Linked DNA regions of Homo sapiens: region 1 is linked to region 2. The links are contacts of gene promoters, found by promoter capture Hi-C in human tissues and cell types (Jung and others, 2019). All regions are on one chromosome and are shown on one strand. Each heading gives the region's core, a stretch centred on a gene start or on the middle of the fragment in contact. The rest is flanking DNA. Distances are from core to core; before and after follow the strand shown. Region 1 overlaps PHLPP1 (PH domain and leucine rich repeat protein phosphatase 1). Region 2 holds the start of VPS4B (vacuolar protein sorting 4 homolog B).

Region 1 (6,716 bases), core at 1,723-4,222, 570 kb before region 2:
TTGTTTATACATATTTTGCCAATAAGGAACTGAGGAAGGAACTCTGAGTTCAGATTTGATCTCCACCCAAGTTGAACTCTATTTTTTTGTTGTTACTGAGAAACACAATGGGGTTTGTGTGTGTGGAAGGGAGATAACTGTTAGAGTGACACTGGTGGCTCATGATTTTGGAAAGCTGTTAGTGACATCTCCTCTGACCCTATACTGTTGCATCTGACTCCTAAAGAGTCCACATTTTCACTTTTGGCCGCATGATGAGCTCACTGGACAAATGCAGCAGAAGTGCCTGTGAATACGTGGCTCATTTTGTCAAGGGAGGGGACTGTGTCGGCACTGATGCTGTCGACGTGGAGCTCTGAGGATTGTTCTTGGCCCTGTGTGTGCTCTTATGGCACTGCTGCATCCTCTTTAGTGAATTACAGTTATTTAGATGTGTGTGTCCTCAAGAGGCTAAGCTTTTGGAGACAAAGACTGCATCTCTCCAGTACCTGGTATAGTTCCTGGTTCATAAAAGGCAAATAACAAATGTTTATTGAATGATTCATTCAGGTTAGCTTGATGGCCCCGCGCATGCTGCCTCCTCATCCCCATCCCCTCACCTCTGCTGGCAAAGAGAGCTGAGGATACCTTGGAGGATCTCTTGGTCTGGAGTTCTCTTGATTGGCTTTTTAAATATTGTTATAGCTTGGTCCTTGAACAGTGAGCCAGGGATTTTGTTTTGTTTTGTTTTCTTCCCCAGCCTGCAGTTGTTTCCATACTCTTATTTTTGGGTCTTTTAACTATATTTTAACAGGTACCTCATAGCCTATCATTTTAAAATCATAGATCCTACCTCTCCCACATGCTCTTGCCCTCAACAGAATACCATCTCTCATATTTATTTATTTATTTTTGAGATGGAGTCTTGCTCTGTCGCCTAGGCTGGAGTGCAGTGGTGCGATCTTGGCTCACTGCAACCTCCGCCTCCCGGATTCAAGAGATTCTCTTGCCTCAGTCTCCTGAGTAGCTGGGATTACAGGTGTGCGCCACCACACCCGGCTAATATTTGTATTTCTAGTGGAGACAGGGTTTCATTATGTTGGTCAGACTGGTCTCAAACTCCTGACCTCATGATCTGCCTGCCTCGGCCTCCCAAAGTGCTAGGATTACAGGCGTGAGCCACTGTGCCCAGCCCATCTCTCATTTTTAACCTATTGATGATAGCCTGTCTGGATTTTCCTGTTGTATTCATTGATTTGCTATGTCATTACCTCGAATCATTTTAAATGTTGTATAATTTGCGTAATCTTTTTTCTTTTCTTTTTTTTTTGAGACAAGATCTCCCTCTGTCACCCATGCTGGAGGGCAGTGGCACAATCATAGTTCACTGCAGCCTCAAGCTTCTGGGCTCAAGGATTCCTCCCACCTCAGCCTCCCATGTAGCTAGGACTATAGGCACGTGCCACCACACCTGGCCAATTTTTTAATTTAATTTTGTAGAGATGGGGTCTTGCTGTGTTGTCTGGGCTGGCCTCAATCTCCTGGACTCAAGTGGTCCTCCCGCCTCAGCCTCCCAAAGTGTAGAAATTACAGGCATGAGTCACTGTGCCTGGCCCTTATTTTATTGCTTATATATCTTTTTCCATCTCATTTAACCATTTAAGAAAAAGAAATGGTGAGATTCTGAAATTCCAGGTAGAATTTCATAAGTATAAAACTGGTAGCTTTGATATGCTTTTATTGGAACATTATGAAGATATATGATGTAATTAATTTTTATTTATTTATTTATTTTTTGAGATGGAGTCTCACTGTGTCACCCTGGCTGGAGTGCAGTGGCCCAATCTCGGCTCACTGCGAGCTCCGCCTCCTGGGTTCATGCCATTCTCCTGCCTCAGCCTCCCGAGTAGCTGGGACTACAGGCGCCTGCCGCCACGCCCGGCTAATTTTTTGTATTTTTAGTAGAGACGGGGTTTCACTGTGTTAGCCAGGATGGTCTCGATCTCCTGACATCATGATCCGCCCGCCTCGGCCTTCCAAAGTGCTGGGATTACAGGCGTGAGCCACCATGCCCGGCAGGTTGACAGCAGTGTTTCACTTCACACAAGCAGAATTATTTGTGGTATTTCAGCTGCTTTGACCAAGCCTTTTAGAGTCATTCTGGTTAATTTTGAGCATGCCATGCACATAAGAAGGATAAATACAACTTTACTAAAGTATAGAGGGGGCAAAATCATCACATTAATGTTACTGTGAACTTTCCCTTGCCTGTGAAAGACGATTATCCACTAACTGAACCAAGAAGAGTAATGGGAATGATGCAGAGTACTGTCCTCTTGCAAGGGAAGATGAGAATTTTGAAAGCGTGGCAGGGATAGGGTAAGGATAGGACAGATAGATTGGTTTACAAATGCAACCCAGCTACACTCAGAGGAGGGACGTTTTTGTCATAAGGGTCCTAATAATAGGCAAAGAAATGACTTAGGAAAGTGTCAAGCTGAGTTATATGTTAGAAATGTGTGGCCACCCATTGAGTCATCTGAAAATTTTGTTGTTCACATTAGCATTTTTTATAGTGCAGTGTTCTTTAGAGGAAATATTTTGAGGACCAAATGAACCCTCCTTCCCTTATGTATATTTACAAGTCATTTGGGAAAAAAAGAGACCACCTGAGCAGGTAGTTGGAAATTATGTTCATTTTGATGTATCTCTCAGGGTGTGTCCATCGTGGTAGAAAAGTCCCATTTAATTTACTAACTCAATTAGCCTTAATTTTTTTTCTTTTTTCTTTTTTTTTTTTGTTCTTGTTTCGTTTTGTTTTTGAGATGGAGTCTTGCTGTTGTTGCCCAGGCTGGAGTGCAGTGGCGCAATCTTGGCTCCCTGCAACCTCTGCCTCTCGGGTTCAAGCGATTCTCCTACCTCAGCCTCCTGAGTAGCTGGGATTACAGGTGCCCGCCACCCCACCCAGCTAATTTTTGTATTTTCAGTAGAGATGGAGTTTCCCCATGTTGGCCAGGCTGGTCTCGAACTCCTGACCTCAGGTGATCTGCCCCCCTCGGCCCCACAAAGTGCTGGGATTACAGGCGTGAGCCTCTGCCCCCAGCCTGTTATTGTTAATACAGACTAAAACTGACTTTCTATGGCACAGTTACCTTCAACTGATCACAACTTGAATCTCTTCGTCTATAGTTCATTGATGGTCTGGCTAATTGCAGTTTATCCTTATAACTGCTCAACGACGAGAGCATTGGCTTACATCGTAGTCTTTTTTGTTTTATAGACTTTTATTGCTTGGAGTGGTAGACATTGCTGTGGAGATACTTGGTCTACAGAGCCTCTCCTGATTTTTTAAAATGAATAAAATGGTATTACTGCAGCAACTTGTTAAGGTGATCAGGGCAGGTCTATTAGTCTATAAGACAGGACTTAGTCTATTTTAGAGATACGGAAACTTGAAGGACAGGTAAGCGAAGTGACTTATTCAAAGTCACGTTGCTAGTAAGTAGAACTGTTCCTACCTACCCCACATACTGTTAAGCTGGTGCCCTTTCTCCTGTATGTCAAGTTGTGTGGACCTCACCTTTGTGCCTTCAACTATCTTGTCTGTGGTTATAAGTACAGTAGCTTTTGCCAAAAGGAATTTATATTCTGAGATCCTTTAGAAGCTTTCTGTAACAGAGATTTGAGGCACTTTCTATATATGCCTGTTTCACTTCCCAAATATCTATAACCTCTTATACTTTTCCTGTAACCTTTAAAATTTTGATTAGGTGCTCACTGGATGGCATCACTGTTGCCCAGCTGGATAAGTTGTGTGGGATTGGAGTGGGCAGAGCCTATGATGTCAAGGAATAATGCCCCATGGGGATTCACCCCTCCTCGGAAATCTGTATTTGGTCAGCAGATGGTCTCTACTGCTTCTCCCGAGGAGGACTCACTGTCTCTGACCACCTTGTCTTCATTTCTAAGGCTTAAACATATCCTGAGGAGTACATCTAATTTTCTTTGCTGTAGTTATGTTATTTTATGATGGAGATTAGAGGAGCCTCCCTTCTGATGAGATCCAGGTCTTGACCTGATGGCATAGAGTTAATAGTACTGGCTCTTGTTCAAACTCTGATCCTGCTACTTTTTTTTTTTTTTTTTTTTGAGATGAAGTTTCGCTCTTGTCACCCAGGGTGGAGTGTGATGGCTCAATCTTGGTTCACTGCAATCTCCGCCTCCCAGGTTCAAGTGATTCTCCTGCCTCAGCCTCCTGAGTAACTGGAATTACAGGCACCCACCACCACGCCTGGTTAATTTTTGTATTTTTAGTAGAGAAGGGGTTTCACCATGTTGGCCAGGCTGGTCTCAAACTCCTGACCTCAAATGATCCACCCACCTCGGCCTCCCATAGTGTTGGGATTACAGGCATGAGCCCCTACACCCAGCCTGATCCTGCTGCTTTTTAAACTAAATGGCCTTGGGCGCACACTCTGTGACTCAGTTTAATCTTTATCTTTGAAACAGGGGTAAGTTCTTACTGCACAGGGTATTGGGAAGATTAAGCTAAATATTGTATCTTAAGCTCTTGGAAGAGTGCCTATCACAAAGAAGGCACTACTTAAATGTTAACTATTATTATTGTTACTTGGAAAAGGAAAACGCTAGAATAATAAAGCCTACTTGCTCTGAGGTGTGCACATGTGGTTTTTTGATTAATTTTTTTTATGTATGTAGGTCTTTCTTATTTCAGGCAGGATCTCAGTTTTAATAGCTGCTGTGTAGGTGGGTCACAGTTTCTTTGGATAGCCCAGCTGGTAGTTTTCTCATTTGGGAATCAAGCCATACCTTCTAAGTAGAGTGCTTTCCTGGTTCTTAACTCTTTGTGATAGAGCCCTGATGTGCCCAGGTTGCTCTGAGTAGAAGCACTTAAATCTCCCATTCTGTTGCAGCTTATGGGACTGGGCAGTGGTGTAGCTAGTGGTAGCTTTTGTGGTCACCTATGCAGCTCACTGCCTAGTGGCCATATTAACATGTTGAATTTATGTTCTCACGATAGACATTCCTAGTTCTACATAGCTCACACAGGACTGCCCTTGCTTGTAGCCTCGTTAATGTGGTTTCCTCCTCCTTGTTTCCAGCAGAAACAGCTTACGGTCTAGAAGGAGGAAAGGAAGCCAATACAACTTGATGTTAAATCATTTTCTCTTAGTTGTCCAAAGGGAGTATTTAGTGGGATGCTTCATTTGAAATGGAATTTGTCTTCTTCAAAGTGGTTGCCAAATGAAAGGATGCACTAGATGCAGAGGCCGCCTGGTGAGAAAGGAGGAGGTATAAGGTCGTCTTCTGGCCATTCTTCCAGCAAGATGTTTTGAGGGTCCTCCCAAGTACTCAACGTGGGGTTATATCAGTGAACAAAATAGAAAAATCCTTTCCTTTATGGAGCTTACAATCTAGAGACAAAGATAGAGAAAAAATAAGAAAATTCCATGGTACAGTAGGCCCTTCTTACTGCGAGTTTCCCATTTTCAGATTCAACTAACCGGGGATCAAAACCTGCCAACACGGAGGGCTGAGTGTACTATGGCATTTTATGTCAGGGACTTGAGCATCCGTGGATTTTGATACCTGCTGGGGTCCAGGAGCTAATCCCCAGTGGATATGGAGCGCCGACCATATGTTGGTGATCACCTCACACTTCTCAGAACCTTTCCACACATCCCATTTCACTCACCTTAAAAGCCAGAGTCCTTACAAGGCCTGAGGGTCCCACAGGATCTGCTGCTTACCCCATATCCCCTGCCCCCTTACCTTCTGACCTCATTGCCAGTCACTGTCTCCTTATTATCAGTGTTCTCAAGTCCCTCGGACATGCCAAGTGTGCTCCTTTTACAAATTTGAGACAGGGTCTGGCTGTATTGCCCAGGCTGGAGTGCAGTGGTGTGATCAAAGCTCACTGCAACCTCGACCTTCTGGGCTCAAGTGGTCCGTCCACCTCAGCCTCCCGAGTAGCTGGAACTATAGGCACGCACCACCACGCCCAGCTAATTAAAAAATTTTTTTATTAGTAGAGTTGGTGGTCTCACTATGTTGCCCAGGCTGATCTCGAACTTCTGGGCTCAAACAGTCCTCCCACCCCAGCCTCCCAAAGTGCTGGGATTACAGGCATGAGCCACCATGCCTAGCTAAGGCATGCTTCTCTAAGGGTCCTAACTCTGGGTACTTCCTCTGCCTGGCAGCATCTTCTTCCAGATAAATCCTATCTGCCAACTTCTCCGGTTTTTCCTTTCTAAATGTGGTCTTTTCAGTGGGCACCACTCTCACCAACCTATTTAAATTACAATCCACCACCTTCCCAGCAGTCTTGACCCCCTTTCTCAAGCTGTTTTTTTTTTCTCTGTAGTGCTTACCAATTTTTTTAACATATAATTTATTTATTTGTAAAGAAAGCTTAATAGGGGAGGGATCTTCATTTTGTTTTCTGAAGTATATTAAGGGCTCACCTAGAACGGTAATTGGCACCTCTAGTAGATATTCAGTAAACATGTTGAATGAATGAAAATGAAAAAAAGTACAATGGAAAAAATAAAGAAGGGTTGCATTAGTTTCCTGTGGCTGCTGTAACATATTAGCAAACCCTTGGTGGCTTAAAACAATAGAAATTTATGATCTCACGGTATATATTGCACATATAACTATTCATCCATCTAATATATGGAGGTGTGTGTGTATTGTATTAAAAATTGTTTTCATAA
Region 2 (6,571 bases), core at 3,742-6,241:
CATTCTGGCTCCTCCTTCTCAGCGTCCTTCATTGATTCTTCCTCTCTTATGTGACAATGAAGTATATTCATCAGGTGTGGGCTGGGACTCATTTCTCTCTGTTTCCTCCCCCCCTACATCAGTGACTTAAGGCTGATGATCTTTGTGTGTGCATGTGTGTGTCTGAGCATGCATATGTTTTTTTTGTTTTTTTTTAATTTATTGGCCTCTCTCTTCTATTAGAATGTAAGCTCCAGGAGAAGAGCAGTTCTGTCTGTTGTCTTCACTTCTTTATATTCCCAGAGTCTAGCACAGTGGCTGACACAAGACTGAATGACTGTGTCACCCCAGGATCAGTCAGGATCCAGTTATCCATACGGAAGTATAAAGGTTGGGAACATGTGGAATTGTCCTGTTCCACTTAGGAGTCCCAGACACATCCACCTTAGAAAACCCTGAGAAATGGGGTAAATTCTACAATTACCTACCTCAGAAGAGGTGTCCCAGGCCCTGTCTGTTGAGACCAATTCTTTCTCCTCTGCTGTGGAGCTGATCCCCACCTTCCTCTGCTGACATTTACTCCATCAATGACATGCCTATCAACTGTTCTCTCCAACCTTTCCTTTTTTCCCTCAGCAGAAAAATGTGTTGTCCTATCTCAGACTCACATCTGCAGAACACAAACTACACACCATCACTCCTCAGCTCCTCGGTTCTCCTCTCCCTACATCTCACTCATCTCTTTGCCTCCACAGCAAAATCCCAAAGAATACCCATGTTCATCCCAGTTTCCTGATCTCCTATTTCTCCCACAGCAATGCTTTCTGCCTCCTGATAGCCAAATCATATGCTTATCTCACTCCCTCTCCGCAGCATTTAACACACACAACAAATACCCTGACAGTGTCTCCTTGCCTGGCTGTCATGACACCATTTTCTTCTAGTTTTAGTATTTTTTTTTTTTTAGACAGGGTCTCACTGTGTCACCCAGGCTGGAGTACACGGGTGTGATCACGCCTCAGTGTTACCTCCACCTCCTGGGCTCAAGCCATTCTCCCACCTCAGCCTCTGGAGTAGCTGGGACTACAGGCATGCACCACCACACCTGGCTAATTTTTGTAGAGAGGGGTTTTCACCATGTTGCCCAGACTGGTCTCGAAGTCCTAAGCTGAAGCGATCTGCTGCCTCGGCCTCCCAAAACACTGGGATTACAGGCATGAGCCACTGCGCCTGGCCTGGTTTTACTTTTGATTCATAATTCTTTTCCAGGCTCCCATTTCTCTCTCCTTAACTGTCGCTAATCCATAGAATTTCTAACGTGGTCTTTGTTTTGCCTTATTCTGTAAACTCTCCAGGATGTGACTCTGTATGCCTACAACCTCTGCTACCACCTGTACGCTAATAAATCCTTATTTCCAGCCTAGTCCACTCTCCCTACTTCTACACATATGTATGCAAATATTCACCGGACATTTCCATTTGATTGTCTCCACAAGCATCTCAAACTCGACAAGTTTAGAACCAAATTATTTTGCTCCCTTGCCCTGGCCCCAAATAGCTCTCCTTTTGTATTCCCAGAACCAATCCCTACCTGAGTTGGGTACTCAGATACCCAACCCAGAAATCTGGGAGAAAACTCAGACTCTTCCTCCTCCCTCACTTTTAAAATGCAGATACAGCAGGGAGCAGTGGCTCACGCCTGTAATTCTACCACTTTGGGAGGCCAACGGGGGTGGATCACCTGAGTTCAGGACTTTGAGACTGGCCTGGCCAACACAGCGAATCCCCGTCTCTACAAAAATTAGCTGGGTGTGTTGGTGCATGCCTGTAATCCCAGCTGCTACATGGGGGGCTGATGCAGGGGAATCGCTTGAACCTGGGAGATGGAGGTTACCATAAGCCGAGATCATGCCACTGCACTCCTGCCTGGGCAATAGAGTGAGACTCTGTCTCAAAAAAAAAAAAATAAATGCAGATACAAGCTTGACTCTTCTCCATCTTCAATTTTTCTCCTTTGATCAATCCTTTCCACTTCATTTGAATGGATACTCTACTAATTTGGCCCCTTACCGCCTCCCATCCCACAGACCTTGCCTCCTTGCCCAGTACATTTTATTACAATATACTGTAATAAAAGTGATGTGAATGTGGTTTCTCTCTCTCAACATCTTATTGCACTGTTCTCAACCTTCTTGTGATTATGTGAAATAATAAAATGCCTACGTCATGATATGAACTGAAGTGAATGACACAGGCATTGTGACATAGTGTTTCAAAATTATGAACTATTTATTCTAGAATATTTCATTTAAAATTTTTGGACCCAGGTTAACTTCGGGTTATTGAAACTGTGGAAAGTAAAACCACAGGGAAGTGGAGAATACTGTGCAGCTTTATTACATTATATAATTTTGATTTTTAGTTATCTGCATTCCCTCATTAGATTATAAGCATCTGGCCACAGAGATTTTTGCCTTGTTCAGCAGGAAGTTAATCACTACATGAATATTAATCCAAATTTCCTAGGTTAGAAGGTTGAAAAGGTTGAATGAGAAAGCACACATGTGAACCTACCACTAACAAAATTACAATTCAAGATCCTTCCTGCTTAAGAGTAACAATTATGCCTTTCATGTTGGTCAGTCTCTGGCTGATTCACTGAAGAACAGCCAACAGTCCAATTCAAGTATGATGCATTCTGGGGCCGGGCACGGTGGCTCACACCTGTAACCCAGCACTTTGGGAGGCTAAGGCGGGCGGATCACTTGAGGTCAGGAGTTCAAGACCAGCGTGGCCAACATGGTGAAACCCTGTCTCTACTAAAAATAGAAAAAATTAGCCAGGCGTGGTGGCAGGCACCTGTAATCCCAGCTACTCGGGAGGCTGAGGCACAAGAATCACTTGAACCTGGGAGGTGGAGGTTGCAGTGCGCCAAGATCACGCCACTGCACTCCAGTCTGGGCAACAGAGCAAGACTGTCTCAAAACAACAACAACAAAAACCTGCAAATGATGAAGATTATGTTGTAGAGTATCGAAATCACATGCAAAGTCTCTGACAAATGAAAAGCTGGTGGAATAAAAATTGTTAAAAAGCCAACGATGACAAGATGGGCACTTCAGAAGAGTCACCTTTAATACTCAAGGGAAAAATACTTTTACCAAATGACCAACGCTTTTTCCAAATACGTTTACCAAAAAGAACCTTTCCAAATAGGACTACAAAAAGCTACAAAAAACTCAAGTGAAGATTGCTGAATCTTAGTTTAATACAACCTTGGTGAAAAAGATAGTCATCCGGGCACGGTGACTCACGCCTGTAATCCCAGCACTTTGGGAGGCTGAGGTAGGCGGATCACCTGAGGTCAAGAGGCCAGCCTGGGCCAACATGGTGAAACCTCATCTCTACTACTAAAAATACAAAAATTAGCTGGGCGTGGTGGTGGGTGCCTGTAGTCCCAGGTACTCAGGAGGCTGAGGCAAGAGAATCGCTTGAACCTGGGAGGTGGAGGTTGTAGTGAGCTGAAATCACGCCACTGCACTCAAGCCTGGGCGACCGTGCAAGACTCCGTCTCAAAAAAAAAAAAAAAAAGAAAGAAAAGAAAAGGAAAAAAACACAGACAAATCAACACTTGACTTATTCCACAAAATGAGTCATTGTTGCAATTATACAATTATAATATTTTGTGAAAGATAACAATTATTTTAATAATCTTCTAGGTCGATTTTCAAGATGAAAGTCCCAAGCAAGCCTCCTTTCCCACTCTTTTTGTGTATGTGTGTGTGAAATTTTAATCTCTGTTTAAGTGGGTCTACTTTGAGTGGTCTTTCTTCAGAATCAATTATCATGGGTTAAGGAGTTCTTCCATTACCTTTGATGCCTCTGTCAGGCACTCCAATAACTGCTTGTTCAACAAACTACCGGAAGTCCACGACGGGGACTCAATACAAGTATTTTAGGCTACTCTTTTGTGCCTTATTGACTTACTGGACTGGGAGTCCTCTACATTAAGCCACATTACATTCTAAACGCCACTGAAGCCCTAGATCCATTCTGGGGATGGGAGACACCATTACATTAAGAAATTTCTTTTCTGAACGAATTCCATTCCACAGAGGACTAACGATTAAGCCTAAAATCTTAAGATTCCATGATTTGTGTACAAAACACTGTGCTCATTGCGGTAGAGGAGGGGAAGTGGAGCCACACAGAGGTTTAAGAATACTCCTCGATCTTACACACTACCATCTGGGAGCCACAGGAGTGTGCACATAAATTCAATGACTTCACGGAGATTGCATGCAGGCTGGCTGTAATCTCAGATTCTTGGTCTGTTCCCATATCTCTACTCACCTGACAGCTCAGAATGAAGGGGTCTGCTGTCAGCTTGAGAAACTAAGACCGAACTATGACCACCCTATCTTCAACTGGTCCAGAATAGGGCTTTGCAAAAATTACGTTCTTTCTTTCTCCGTTAACCCTGATTGGAGAAACCTGCCCAGATCTTGGCTGGTTTGGAAGCGGGAAGTGTCAACAAAAGTGAAGAGTCTCACAAAGCCAGTAGCTCGGGAGACCCCAAGAGCGGGCCAGAAACGACCTTTCCGTTGGAAAACGGGCCCCTCTCCCACCTGCTGCAGGTCCCCGGACCCGCCCTCCTGCGCCTCGACCACAGGCGCGGCCGCTTCCTCCCTTCTCCCCGCCCCCCACCCGCTTCTCGCGCCTCCCCTCGATCCCAGCTCCCTAGGGGGACGGGAGATGAGCAATGATACCTGGAGGTTGGGCGAAGTGGATGACATGGCGGAGTTCCCAGGCGGTTCCCAAGGGAACGAGGGGCGAGGAGAGCCAACAGCAGCAACGTCGAAGCGCGCACGGGGTAACAGCCCTCAAACTGGGGAGGCCGGTGGTTCTCGGACCGCGAAGGGCAGCCTCCCTTCCGGAACTTGTTTTAGACAACACTCTCTCCACCAGAGCTCCGACCCTCCCCACCAAACTTCCGCAATCCCGAGGCCCTCTAGGTTCTGGTCCCGCCTCTGCTCCGGGCACTTCCGATTTCGTCATCAGCACGCGCACCCAGTCACCAGACTCCCTTCTCTAGCCACAGCGCAGGCCCTCCCTGGGCCGGGAGAAGTAGCCTGGAAGCCAATCGAGCCCTGGCGGAAGTCGGGCTCGGCGCAGGCGCACTGAGACTCTGGCCTAGGCGCGGGCGGCAGCCTGGCAGACCTAGGAGAGCGCAAGCGCGGAAGCACAGAGCCGGGTTTTGTTGTTTGTTTGTTCCCCACCCCCGGGGACGTCTTTTACTTTGAGATGAATTATTGGCCCCGGCTCCCTTCCCTCCTCATCCACATGCTTTGTTGCCTCGTAGCTTTTGAGTGAAAAAGTCGTCCATTTCCAAGACCCGCCGACTGGGGGCTTTGGGCCTGTGACTGCGCCTTCACTCCGTGTCCTCTGTGGAATGGGGGCGATCACCGTCCTCGTCTCGGTGGTGAATAATTCAGGAGGGAGTGCGCGGTGAGGCGGCCGCACAGCGGTGCGCTAGCAGTCAGGCCGCGGGCGGGTCGGCGCTCGTTCCCGCTTGTTCTTCCCACGCCACTCGGCATCTTCCAAATGACTGTTGTGTTGGGAAGATGAATGTAAATAAGGCGTGGACGGCCGCTGTCCTCGAGTATGTGGTCTGAGAGGGAAGCACTTGTCCTGTAAAATGGGCATATCAGATATTATTTATGCCAGTTATGTTTACAAGCAAATGGCTTGAGGAGGTTGAATGCGTCAGGGATTAGAGGCAGAACCAAAGTAAAACCCTTTCTCAGCCTTCCTATGGTTTGCAGCCACCACCACCCTTTTCTTCTTTTCATAGTTAACATTCTCAAAGGAAAGCAACATAGATGTTTAATCACTCCATCATTTTTTTCTCACTCATTTCTTAATTTTTTCTCATCTGGCATCTCCGAAAGAATTAAAGTCCTCTCCTCTTCCCTCTTCATTGGTATTGTCAACTACCCAGTTCTTGTTTGTCCAGCTTCCCAATATTCCTTATCTGCTTCCTTCACTGTCTCCCTTTCTTACTCCTCCCTGAGCTTAAGCTGAATTTACTCAAGAGTCTGATGTCCTCTTCTCTCTTCACCTCTGCTCATCTAACTCTCTTCTTGAGCTTCAGCTATCAATAGACTAGAAATTGCTTCAAATCTGGATCTCTAGACCCACCCCATCCCCAGCCCAGCATTTACAACAGCCTCCCAGAGGTTTCCTTCACAGGGTTTTTCTGCAAGACAAATTCAACATACTCTAATTAATTACCTTCTACCCTAAACTTCTTTCTCTGGTCTCTCCTTAGAATAGTATTGCCAAATCTGTATCATCCAGGCTCGAAGCACAGAGCCCTCTCTCTGCCCTGCATCTACCCGTCCTTTCTTCCCACTTGTGAATTTGCCTTCGCAAAATGATGACTGAGACAGTGAAAGAGATCTAACTTAACCAACTCCATCTTACTTTTAACCTCCAAGCTGTCCTTGTACATTCCTGAGCATAGGCTGAACTAACTGTGGGAGAAACTGAGTTTATAATTTAAGCAAAGATGGGCCGGGCGTGGTGACTC

Evidence for each region. The method cuts DNA at HindIII sites, captures the fragments that hold promoters and counts their contacts. A contact is called where the count stands out against the background at its distance.
Region 1: a contact is called between a fragment that was not itself captured here and the fragment with the promoter of VPS4B in region 2, in 1 of the 25 tissues and cell types used here (dorsolateral prefrontal cortex).

The regions. Positions count from the first base shown.
Region 1 is chr18:62,850,586-62,857,301 of GRCh38, forward strand. All of the region lies in intron 3 of PHLPP1 (PH domain and leucine rich repeat protein phosphatase 1), which reads left to right. Among named protein-coding and RNA genes, the nearest start is that of PHLPP1, 140 kb to the left of the region's middle. The HindIII fragment of the contact is 4,110 bases long and covers 918-5,027 here.
Region 2 is chr18:63,417,485-63,424,055 of GRCh38, forward strand. VPS4B (vacuolar protein sorting 4 homolog B) reads right to left here and starts at 4,992. Exons shown (of 11, transcript NM_004869.4): 1 at 4,749-4,992. The coding sequence starts at 4,775. RefSeq lists an enhancer at 4,860-5,159. The HindIII fragment of the contact is 11,812 bases long and covers 1-6,571 here.